Linked DNA regions of Homo sapiens: all the other regions are linked to region 1. Evidence: promoter capture Hi-C in 16 types of primary human blood cells and fetal thymus (Javierre and others, 2016). All regions are on one chromosome and are shown on one strand. The core of a region is centred on a gene start or on the middle of the fragment in contact, and the rest is flanking DNA. Distances in the headings are between cores, read along the strand shown. Region 1 holds the start of DLG2 (discs large MAGUK scaffold protein 2). Region 2 holds the start of SNORA25 (small nucleolar RNA, H/ACA box 25). Region 3 holds the start of SLC36A4 (solute carrier family 36 member 4).

Evidence for each region. Contacts are between HindIII fragments. The CHiCAGO score rates a contact against its expected background, and 5 or more counts as called.
Region 2: a contact is called between a fragment that was not itself captured here and the fragment with the promoter of DLG2 in region 1, in 1 of 17 cell types (neutrophils). The highest score is 5.7, in neutrophils.
Region 3: the fragment with the promoter of SLC36A4 here is called in contact with the fragment with the promoter of DLG2 in region 1 in 1 of 17 cell types (naive CD8 T cells); the score reaches 7.3 in naive CD8 T cells.

Annotation. Positions count from the first base shown.
Region 1 is chr11:85,624,665-85,628,593 of GRCh38, reverse strand. It overlaps DLG2 (discs large MAGUK scaffold protein 2), which reads left to right and starts at 1,250. Exons shown (of 28, transcript NM_001142699.3): 1 at 1,250-1,376; 2 at 1,841-2,007. TMEM126B (transmembrane protein 126B) reads right to left here and starts at 1. Exons shown (of 5, transcript NM_018480.7): 1 at 1. RefSeq lists enhancers at 204-393, 534-583, 664-823, 696-1,204 and a silencer at 3,143-3,343. The HindIII fragment of the contact is 9,013 bases long and covers 1-3,929 here.
Region 2 is chr11:93,727,402-93,731,330 of GRCh38, reverse strand. It overlaps CEP295 (centrosomal protein 295), which reads right to left. Exons shown (of 30, transcript NM_033395.2): 24 at 3,694-3,929; 25 at 2,510-2,650; 26 at 1,801-1,897; 27 at 1,550-1,717; 28 at 1,362-1,461; 29 at 1,183-1,282; 30 at 973-1,100. The coding sequence ends at 1,062. SNORA25 (small nucleolar RNA, H/ACA box 25) reads left to right here and starts at 685; the gene lies at 685-818. It overlaps SNORA32 (small nucleolar RNA, H/ACA box 32), which reads left to right and starts at 232; the gene lies at 232-352. It also overlaps a transcript of TAF1D not described here. The HindIII fragment of the contact is 1,275 bases long and covers 1,226-2,500 here.
Region 3 is chr11:93,196,255-93,200,183 of GRCh38, reverse strand. It overlaps SLC36A4 (solute carrier family 36 member 4), which reads left to right and starts at 2,193. Exons shown (of 11, transcript NM_152313.4): 1 at 2,193-2,406. The coding sequence starts at 2,352. RefSeq lists a silencer at 2,052-2,431. The HindIII fragment of the contact is 1,801 bases long and covers 1,576-3,376 here.

The sequences.
Region 1 (3,929 bases), core at 1-2,500:
TGACTTGCCGGTGGGCGGGGACCCAGAACGCCCTGGGCGGGAAGTGGTGCTGATTTACGGCTCAACGCCTCTCGATTGCAGCCCGGGCCCGCCCCCACTCAGTCAAAAGCCGCGCCCTCCATCCTGACTGTGATTGGGCGCGGCGTCTAGAAATTACGGCCACTTATTCGCTTAGAGGAGGTCCAGGCGCCTGTGGGCCTGCCCCCCTCGCCAGCCGAGTATTTCCTTCCCTGACTATTTATCAGCTTAGCTCCCTGATCTCTTCGCGTCCTGCGGGAAAGATGGGGCGGCCCGAATGTTGTAATGTTACTGCGCTCCTGCCTCTCCTCAGGGCAGCTGGGAACTAGCTGCCTGCCCCTTTCAGTCCTTGAGGGAACTCGCCCCTTTGCCCTGGCCTGTGTGGTGTTAAAGCTCTGTTTCTCGGGCACCTCCTCCTCCAAACCCCGGACCAGCCGCCCAGCGCCGTCAGAGCAGCCCCGACTAGCCTCCTCTCCTCTCAGCCGTCTGACTCCTCTCCCCAGTCTGTAGTCCCCTCAATTTGCATCCTTTAGCCCCGCTTGGAAAGAGACCGGAGAGAAATTTGCCCACTACCCCCGCGAGAAGACCCACTTGTCAGCCGTGTCTCGGGGTGGGGGGCACTGCAAGGCCTGGCGCTGTTTTGTGCACGTTAAATGCCCAGCAGTATCTCCCAGACCGGCAACCCCCGACCCTCCAGTCTCCATGTCTTACAGAAGCCAAATTCGAGAGTTATATAATTTCTAGTGCTGCTGTTGCTCCTGCCTGAGGAAACACTTCATCGCGTGGAGGGTGCAGGACATTTCAGTGCTCTTCCCTAAAAGAACGGGGCTTGGGCAGGGGTGGCCAGCGGTGGCAAAGAAATGTCTTGTCTTTTCTGCAAAAGGAAGGTGGGTAGTTTGAAGAGAGATTGAGAGAAAAGGTGGATGTGAAAGCCAAGCAGCTGCACTTTCTCATTTAGGAAATCGCGGACCGTTTACATAGCTTATGCTTACATGTCTAATACTACTACGGCGTCTCTGAAAACACCTTTGGGGGAAGGTTTGGCTTCTCTCGAAGTCTCAGTGTTTTTCCTCGCCGGATAGGGAGCTGCTTGAATGCGAAGAGATGGCATGATGTGAATGACTCCAGTGTGAAGAAATCTGCTTCGCCAACTCATCCTGCATCAAGTGCCCATTGAGTAGCACTGTCACTTTAATGTCTCCATGCCAAGGGATTGCTTTCCTTTTTTTTCAATCCTCTCGGTTAATACATGGGAGGATCAGAATCAGAGGGGCATTAAGGATCAAGCCTGGGGGCTTGGAGAGCACAGAAGAAAAAAATGAAAGGGACAGCAAGCTGGATTCTGAGTTACTGAGGGGGTGAGATCCGGAACTTCTGATCAGTAAATATAAGGGGGCCTTTCAATGTGTGTTCTGCCACAGAAAACTGTTCAAACTCACCTATCTTTTTAGAGACTGGAGTCAAAGAGATTTTTAAAAGTATTTTTGGGGAGGTGGGGTTACATTTTTCTCTACAGATTTGAGTATCTTTATCATCATCTTTGAATTTGACCATGTATAAAGTAATGAGACCTGTCTAAATTTGGTTTGTGCCTTAATTGAGTTAGTCATTGAACTTCCAAAAATGTTGCTGCCTGAAGAGGAATTTCAGTAACGTTCTTCATGTTTACAATAATTTTCCCAGTTTGTAAAAACAGTCTAAATATTTTCTGAAAATTGAAAAACTTGAAAAACTAAAAAATTACGTTGCTGTAAACTCTGTGGGCGGTGTAAAAAGTTTAGTTGTGGAAAAAATACATCATTATTTTCTTTGTCTGACATAGAAGACTCAGCCTGGATTTCAAAACTGAACACTGAAGTGGTTTGCAACAGTTACCTGGCTCTTGGCCTCAATCCAGCTGGATCAAACTGAGACCTGAAAAGAGATATTGACTCCTGTGGCAGTGGAAAGACCCAAGAATGCCAGTCAAGAAGACAGGTGGGCCATAAGGTTGCTATATAATATTTCTCCCTTTTGTTGGTTCTGGTACTTGTAATTTAAATTATATTCCATTTGAGAGTAAAGTTTTGCTTCAGTTTGGGGGAAATATTTATTGTAATATAGTTTCAGTGGTACATAATTCAGTAATATTATTTTACTAAAGTAAAAGGAAGCAAGACTATAGTATTTATTGATAGATATTTATGATTTCATAAATCAGGTTGTTTATATCACCGTTGGTAATAAGAATAGATTCAGTACCGCAGATTTGGAGTCTCCTTTAGCTTGTTTTCTTAGCTTGTTGAAGGTTACTTTTAAGCAGTCTTTAAAAAAGAAACTTGTGCAGTGGAGCTCTTCCTCATGGGTTTAATATTTATCAAACTAATTACAGAATTGTGAAAGGTAGCAAAGTAATTTCATTTGCACTGAACAAAATTACAGCTTTATAATTTATCTTTTGGTTAAAAAATAGACTTATTATTTGGATTTATTCTAGTGTAAATCTTCACTTTTGTGATAAAGCACAACTTTCGTGACTATTGTGCTTTTCCAGATATATGCATTATCCAATAACATGATTGTCAAGTTCCCCAAATGGGGCAAACACCTGTTTTTTTCCTCCCTCCTCAACAACTTTTATTATTGGAATTGATCAAGATCTAGTGAATTCCTGAAGCATAGTTGATTATATTCTGAACTTGGGGATTCAGTTTAGCTTAGATGCACCCCAGGTTAACTTTGTTCCAAAGGATCCTAGTTTGGGACTGTTTTTGTTTTGTTTTGTTTTGACATTATATGGAAGGTGAGATCAACTGTAAAGAGTTTCTCAAGAGTTTTGAATCAAAACTTATATGAACAGCCTTGAACTCTGCTATACTGGACTAATATAGATCCAAATGTTGTCCAGTTATGTGAGTTGCTACAATCTGAAACTAAAGCTCTGGGTGAATTGCAGGTTAAAGTGGAACTTATCTCTGCATGGTGTTTAATTCTTCTACCTGTGGATTTGTTAGGGATGTTGAGGAAACTTATAATCACTGAGATGCCTTATCCAAGCTGATATTTGTAGAGATGGACAATGATATATAAAACTTTTGGAACACCTAGAACTGTGATATTTGCACACTGGGATTTAAGATTGGGATTGTTTCCTCCCCCTGCTGTTTCTAATAATACCACTGACAGAAGTAAACTGCCTGAGATTTTGGAGCCACACTTGTCCAGACCAGACACAATTGGTTTATCTAGAACAAGAATGGTTTTGGGAATGTAGCCAATAAATGATATGGCTCTTTGACATATTTAAGTTGATGTGTGTTTTTATTCTTTCTACCATTTCTCTAGAGAGTTTCTTTTGGATTACCTTATTTTGAACTAATAATGGAATTAAACACATTACGTGTGTGTGTGAGAGAGAGAGAGACAGAGAGGAAAAGAGTGAAAGGAAGAGAGAATGGGAAGGAGGAGAGACAGAGAAAGAGATAAAAAGGTATGTGGGAAGGAAGAGGAGGAAGGTCAATTGATATTCTAGGTATAACTTAACTAAGCAGGTTTAGTTAGAAAGTTTAGAACTTAATGTTTCTAAACCCCATAAACCGAGTTTCTTAAAAGTTCTTCCCTTTAAAGAACTGTTACAGAAATTGCTGATACATTGGTGAAATTATAATACTTTAGAAGAATTTCCTTTCTTTCCTTCTTCCTCTCTTCCTTTGCCTCCCTCCTTCCCTTTCTTCTTTCCTTCTTCAATAATGAATTGACTAATGGATTGAATTTTTAAAGGAATCAACAAGTTCTTATTAGAAAAACCAGTTTATATTTCTATGATACCAGAGTATATGTTGTATATTTTCCTTATAAACTGATCTAGAGAAACAATGTATCTTGCTTTTAATCTCTTAAAACTGCTAGTATTATGATACATATTCTTGAAT
Region 2 (3,929 bases), core at 614-3,113, 8.1 Mb before region 1:
TTACTTGGGGTGCCGGGTTTCAGGATACTTTGGAACCTAAGCAACCTCATTCTTGAAAGATAGATTTATGTACTTAATAGTAAATATAAATTTGAAATACACATTTTTCCACAGGTGAATTTTGAAGTCTTCATCAGTATATCCATATTAAAACGAGATGACAGAAGCCAAAGTAATTATGGCAAGTAATGGTTTTTATCTTAACTATAAGTTATTTGCTCAAGGGTGTAATGGTCATTACCAAGGCTTTTAGAATGCAGTTTCTCATTTGCTGTGGACATGACCATAAAAAAATTTCCCAGTAGGTTTTCTATCTGCTACTTTGCTAGCAATCAGCTTATTGGGAACAGTTGATTAACTGTAATAGAAATGCAATACAAATAAAATGTGAACCACATGTGATTTTTCTTTAAAATCAGTGAGATTTGAAAATTCTCCTAGATCTCTTGAATCATGCAAATTTGCTTTGCCTTTATATTGTAACCCTTGTGGGTTGCTAATAACCAAGCAGTTTGTAGTAGAGTTAACTCAGGCTCGTTCTAGGGACTCATTCATGTTCACTCACTGTACACTCATCTCTGGAAATGTAAAATTTACTTTTATACTATTGTTATGTAGGGCTGACAGGACAACTGGATCAGTTTCATTAAAAAGGTATGTATGCATTAGAAAAGACATTTGTATGGGTCATTTCAAAGAGGGCTTATGAGGCTGTGAAACCCAGAGCTCTTAACGCTGTGACCAAAGATGGAAGTTCTCTATAGGAAGCCATAGCACTCCTAATGTTTGGTGCTATGTTTTCCTGAGGAGATATAAAACGTAATAATCCAGGATTGTTGCCATGTGAGAGTTTTAAAGGTTAATCAAAATTTCTCTTCTTCAGGGCAAACTTGAAGATAAATCTTTTGACTCCAGCTCTTTAGAGGATCTAAAGTGACCTTGATGGACAGTGGAAGAAATCACAACATGGAATTCCTCGAATAACAATTTATTGACTTTAAATAATTTTGTCTAATGCTACATATACACAATTAAAAAACCTTTACACTATTTCTAGAAAGTCAGCATGTATTTTTGGCTCGAAGTTTCTCTAGTGTTTTCTGTGGAAGGAATAAAAATTTGAGTTTCAGTTGTGTACTTCATGCTTGAAAAATTAAGTCCTTCTCCCTCAGTTATACTCACCTTATGGAATTCTTTTGCCCTTGCTCTGTTTTGGGCATAAGCTTCTTGTTTTGTTTTTTCTTCCTTTTGTTGTTTCACTTCAGCTAGTTGATTGTATAACCTGTAAAGAATTTATATAGAATTAGAGACAAACACTGCAAAAAGTGAATCACTAAAAAAAAAAAAAAAATTAACCCTACCTTAGACCCCTTTGGTGCCTTAGAGCCTGTGTAGTCTTTCTGTCTTCAGGAAAAGATGCTCTGACTTTATTCACGCCCTTTAGACGACTCACAGATGAACCTGAGGAAAGAAAAGTGAAATCAAGTTGTAAACACAAGGCTTTAAACATTTCAGGGAGTTGGTTGAAGATTTTAAAAATTCAACATACTTATAGATGGTTTCTCTTTAACTGTTTTGATTTGAGAATTTTCAGAGACATGAATTTTATTCCTTATTTCTTTCTGCCTCTGGTGGGATCTCTCCATAAATGATTTTTTCCTCTTTATAAATGCTTCTTGTAAGCTCCCTGGTACAGGTGTAAGCCTGCGAGGGGTTTCTGCTGGGGGAAAAGAAATTTATGACAGAAATAGGCAAAGTATCTACTTTCCATTAGAAGTGTGGAGGCCGTCCAAGGCTTACCTGTAGATGCTGTCCTTGGTTTTTCTATGGAAAGTTCTGATACAGCTGGATAATCTGAGGCTTCTGTTGCTGATACAAGAGGCAGAAACTCACTCACCTAATGGCAAGAAAGTTGCATGTTTTACTCTTTTTAAACGCTTTAAGCGGGTCTTGCTCTGCTGTCAGATTAGAGTGCAGCGGCATGATCACACCTCACTGCAGCCTCAATCTTAGCTGGGTCTACAGAGACCCGCCACCATGCCTGATTTTTGTATTTTTTGTAGGGATTGGGTTTTGCCTTGTTGCCCAGGCTGGTCTTGAACTGGGCTTAGGCTCCACTGCCCTCACACCTCTAGGCCTCTGTTTAGATAGCTTTATTCTTATTGCCTCCCTACTCCCCTAGTAAAATTACCAGTTGTTCTGAAGTCATTTTTCAATATCTGGGAATAAGTTTAGGTAAAACTTCCAACTTGGCACTATAACACTAGGTGTATAAGATTAGTTCTGCCAGTCTTGGAGACAGGCATAAATTGGAGTGGGGATTAAAAGAAAATGCACAATGGTTGACAGAATAGTGAAGGTTTAAGACAAATTGAGAGCTGGTGGGGGTGTCGGCTTAGTTAAATGCATAGCATAATTCCCTCCAATGAGTACCTTCTGATAAGTTGTAAGAGACAAATCAACTGGTTTGCTTGTAATAGAATAAAATAGAAGGAAAGCTTAAATTTACCTGAAAGAAGCATTTTGCTTCATTCTCGCTCTTCTCTTCTAGGGTTAAATTTGCAAAATCCATTTCAGCAATACTGGTATCAGTGGTGCTTATTAAAGTAAGTTCTGGTTCTTCCATTATACCATGGCCAGTTTCTGTTTCCTGTGAACCACAATTAAAAGGAAAACCATGTCAAAATAGCCTTAAAAGACTTAAACTAATCGTTTTGTATATAATGCACATTTTTTGCAAGTGTATATAAATGTGAAAATGGAGGAAGAAAAGCAATGATTGGCAAAGACCAACAGATCAGATTTCCTTAGGCTTCCATAACTCCAGCATTCAGTTGTAGAAATACTGGAGCCTACTTTGGGGAGGGGATGAAATAGTGTGACAATGGACTGAAAGGTATCTACCACAATGATTACAAACCTAAATGCTTGTAGTGTTGGGCAAAAAATATAAATGCAGGTTGGCTGTGCCGAATTGTATCCTTTAAAGGGAGCAGGGGTCGACTGGGCTGCTACCAAATGTGGGCCACTGACTGCTAACAGATAATGTTTCAAAAGTATCTAAACACAACAAGAACAAAAGCAGCCACATAAAACGTGGTTTAGTTGTAATTCTTATTTTCAATCTGTTATGTTTATTTGTGGAAGGATAAACTGCACATACTGCTAGATGAAAACCAGTCACCAGTTGACTGGTGTTGAAAGCAAGCAGATTATAAGTTGCTTAATATGAGGAGCAGGTTTCCAATACTTATTCCAATAATGGATGAATTCATTGCACTGGAATGAGGCTCAACACTGAAAGTGCTGAAGCACAGGCAGAACCACCATTTTTCAGGGAAGTTGGAGAAAGGATATCTGAATTGGGAGAAAAAGGATCTTTTGTAAAATACTCTCAGAAGACAGTTTTCAAATTTTTAAGTTTCTGCATTATGCTGGATATTTCTAGTGATCACAAGCTGGATAGCAATATTAACAAGCAGTTTTGCTTGTATTTTGTTTCAGGTTTTTCCTGCCAGGCATTGTGGTGTGTCCAAACTACTTCGGAAGTTGAGGCAGGAGGATCCCTTGATCCTAGGAGTTTGAGTTCAGCCTGGGTAGCATAGTGGGAACTTCATCTCTAATTTTAGAAGAAAAAAGTTTTTTCCCAAAAAGGAATTTAAATGTTATTTATACAACACTGATTTCACTTACCCAGACTGGTATAGAGCTCTGTAATGAAAATGATCCAGAACTTGCAAAAAGCTCTGATTCTCCTAGTTGAGATAGTTTTTTGGTGATTTTTGGAATGTCTGTTTCAGCTGAATTCTCAAAATATTTTTCATTTTGAGTAGTTAAGGAATATGGTGCCTGAATTGAAGTTCCCATCTCCACTGTTCTTACACATAATCGAGAGTCAGTTTCCTCTACCTGTGGATTTATGTCTAAAA
Region 3 (3,929 bases), core at 944-3,443, 7.6 Mb before region 1:
TTGTTCTGTTCTGTCACATGCTATATACTATGAACTCCATGACAGTAGGGACCATACCAACATTATTTGCCCTTCTAGCCCCAGCATCTAGCATACTTCCTGATATATGGAAGGTGCTCCGTAAAATGTGCTTGAATACATTAAAGACTTCTAAATGTTTCCTTTCATATACCTATGAGGCTATATTCAGTAACTTTCAACAACTGTTCATTGAGTGACTGGTATTTGTAAGTCACTGTGCTAGGCCTGTTTGGACAAAGACAAATACAGTTAATTCCTCAACAGGCCTAGCACAGTGCCTTGCACATAATAGTATACAGCATAGTATAAAGCCCAGAAAGAGGAATAATTATAAGTGGAGAAGTGTTGTAACAGAGATACGAACAAAGTGCTGCAGTTGCAAAGAAGGAAGTAGTTAAGATGTGATGCAAGAAGTTAAAGTCAGGAAAAGAAATGAATTTCCAGGGTTCAAATTGTCACATTCTGTATAATGTCTCTATTTTGATACAGCTGTACTTTATATCTGCTTCTAATTTATAAGACCTGGAGTAGAAGTCCTAGTAAATATGTTCTCAAGTAGAGATGCATGAAAAACATATTTCTCTTGAATCTTATGATCATTGTTATCACTTGCTTTATCTCCACATCACTGTAAAGACATTGGGCCTCCTACCTCAGCCCAACCCTCTTCAAAAGATTTCAGGCCTATACTACAAGTCAAACTTTTCTTCCTTCCATATTGCCAGATCTGCTTTCCCTGAAGCTGAGATTAGGGGACAATGACTTTTGATCCCTTTTAACTCTCAAAGGATAATGTTCTTTTAAGATGCTGTCCCACATGTTCTCATTATAATGAGTGGTTTATGGAAAATTACCTTGGTCCTATAATTTCTGTCTGATGCCTATCTTCTCTCCTGCTGATCTTTAACCAGGTGATCCACCCCAACACAGGTTAGGGAACATTGCTCTAGCTATGTTCCAGAATAGATTTCTTCTTCTTCTTCTTTTTTAAAAAAAATCTCCTTTACCCCTTTATTTGTCAGGAACACTTCAAATAAAACCTTCTTTTGGGATTTGCATGTGTATGTATGTGAACAAATTGGGTTCACTTAAAGGAAAAGAAAGGGGGTTGGCAAACTGTCATTATCACTAGTTATCTAGTGAAAGCCTACAGAGGATGCAACAGGAGGAAAGATGTAGATAGTATGTAACTGCGTACCTTTTTAATCTCAGAATTTTAAATATTTAACACCATTGCCATATAGTTACATCAGTGACTGTTAATCAGACCCACTCCCCCCCAAAAAAACCCTTTCCTAAAGCAACCCCACTGAATGAAACGGACACAAATAAAAAGGATTGTCTGGTGTACTGACTTCCAAGAACTATGAAGTGAAAAAAAAAAGAAAGCGATTTTAAAATTAAAATAAATATTTTCCTTTTAAACCAAAAGCTTGCTTCATCCATTGATTCATCGAATATTCATTGGTACCCATCTGGGAGGCCAGCTTTGCATATTTTTCGAGAGCTCCAGCTCTGAAGGCAGAAGGATTCTACTTCTGCCATGTACAAGCTTCCTGTCCCCAGACACGTTACTTACCTCCGTGCCTTAATCCCTTCATCTTTAGCGTTAATGTAAATATTAGAATTATCTCACAAATTGTAGTCAGAATTAAAGATAATGTATGTATGGTGCTTAGGAGTACTTGAAACTACATCAGTACACTTAGTCTTTACCTTAATTTTCTTTCAGCACCACGGTCAACGTCAAATATCTGGAAGGACATTGAAATATCCTGAAAGTGAAATTGTATATGACTTAATTAAATTCTATTTAAGTGTCTCCTGTAACTCTAACTATAGAAACAGGGAGACGAATAACCAGAGTAGTCAGAACCTCAGCATGGGTAGGGGACAAATCCCGTCCTTCTTCGCATTCTCCAAGGTGACTTACAGAACGCTAACGCCTTGCATACGGACAGGCGCCCCAAATTTAAGTTCGCCGTCATCTTTAAAACCCCCAGGGAGCTATGGGCCCGGGTCTCGGCTAGCTCTAAGGTCCCACCCTCGCTGATCTCAGGTTACCCAACCCTCCTCTCGGGTTACCCAACCCGGCCTCGCAGCAGTCCTCGGGTCTTCGGCCCCTCCCGCCCCTCGCCGGCGGTGCCCGCCGAGCCGGGCTGTCCCACTGCGCATGCTCCTCGCCGCGCGGTTGGGGAGCGCCGGGGCAGGGAGGCGGGCACCAGGCGCGGGTCCCTCCGGGCAGGGGAGGTAGGCCTGGGCCTGACGCCGGCCACGCAGCGGCGGGAGAGTGAGCACTCGGGCGGCGGCGTCCTGGAGACCCGCGAGAGATGGAAGCGGCGGCGACGCCGGCGGCTGCCGGGGCGGCGAGGCGCGAGGAGCTAGGTCGGTGTTGTGCGTGGGCAGGGAGCCGGGGCTGACGTGGGCGGGGGTCTGTGCGGGAGTCGGGTGCGCCCACACCTCCAGGGGCCCCGCGCTTGGCCTGAGTTGAGGCCCGATTGCTAACTGACCCCGTGGTCAGCATCCGCAAAGGAACCGGTTATCTGACCCCGAGAACTTGGTCAGACGAAGCCCAGGCCTGAATAGGGCGTTAAAATATGTGTGTGTGTGTTTGCGCGCGCGCGTGTGGGTGAGTGTGTGTGTTGAGTGGGGCGGGGCCCTGTGGGTACACGTCAAAGACGCAAGAGCCTGCGCCGTGACTCACGGTTTTTTTCCCAATGATGCTTTAAGGAAGTTATCATTGTTCTGCTTTTCAAATGCTGCAGCCCCATTCGGAATCTCCAGATGAATCCTCATTTTACTCCTTGTTATCCCAGAGTTTCGAACAGGTCGTGCTGACCAGAATGAACAGGAGATACCTGTAGCTTGCTCACTTGGCAAAGTTTGTTTGTTTTTTGCTGCTTTCCTCCCATCTTGTTTCTTGGCGACAGGGCGTGTTTGTTTACGGTTTCCCGCTGTCCAAAATAAAAAAGTAAGGATCAGGGTGGTAAAATGATCGCTCTCCCAGTTATACGTACTGTACTTGGGAGTATTTTTCATTCGATGCTGATTAAATGTAATTAAAAAATTAAATCTAAATGGAATCTTCAAGAAAACCGTTGAACTTTAAAAAATACCGTATTATAAGTAACTGATAGGTTGTTGTTATTCCTCTAATAGCCTGCAGGGCACTTTGCAATGGAATTGTTTTCAGGCCGTAATAATGGTAGAAACAATAAACTTAACATTTTATTGCGTGCTTACTGTGTGCAAACACTGTGCTAAGTGCTTTACCTATGCATTGTCTTTAATCCTCACAGCAACTGAGATAGGTGCTATCATGATTTCCATTTTATAGATACAGTAATTTTAAGCTTATTAATGGCAGAACCCAAATGTGAACTCAGGTTTCATTCATTAATAACCTGTCTTAGTGAGGATATGGAGAAATGGGTATTCTCATGCATTGCTGGCAGGAAAGGGATAATATATTTAGCCTTAAAAATGTACATATCGGCCTGGCGCGGTGGCTCACGCCTGTAATCCCAGCACTTTGGGAGGCTGAGGCGGCCGGATCATCACAAGGTCAGGAGATGGAGACCATCCTGGCTAACACGGTGAAACCCCGTCTCTACTAAAAACACAAAAAATTAGCCGGGCGTGGTGGCGGGCGCCTGTAGTCCCAGCTACTCGGGTGGCTGAGGCAGGAGAATGGCGTGAACCCGGGAGGCGGAGCTTGCCGTGAGCCGAGATCGTGCCACTGCACTCCAGCCTGGGCAACAGAGCGAGACTCTGTCTCAAAAAAAAAAAGTGCTTATCGTTTGACCCAGCAATTCTCCTTCAGAATATTTCCCGAGGAAATAAGTAATGTAACCCATACTTATATCAAGAGGTTTTCATTATAGTATATAGAGAAAAGCTGTTAACTA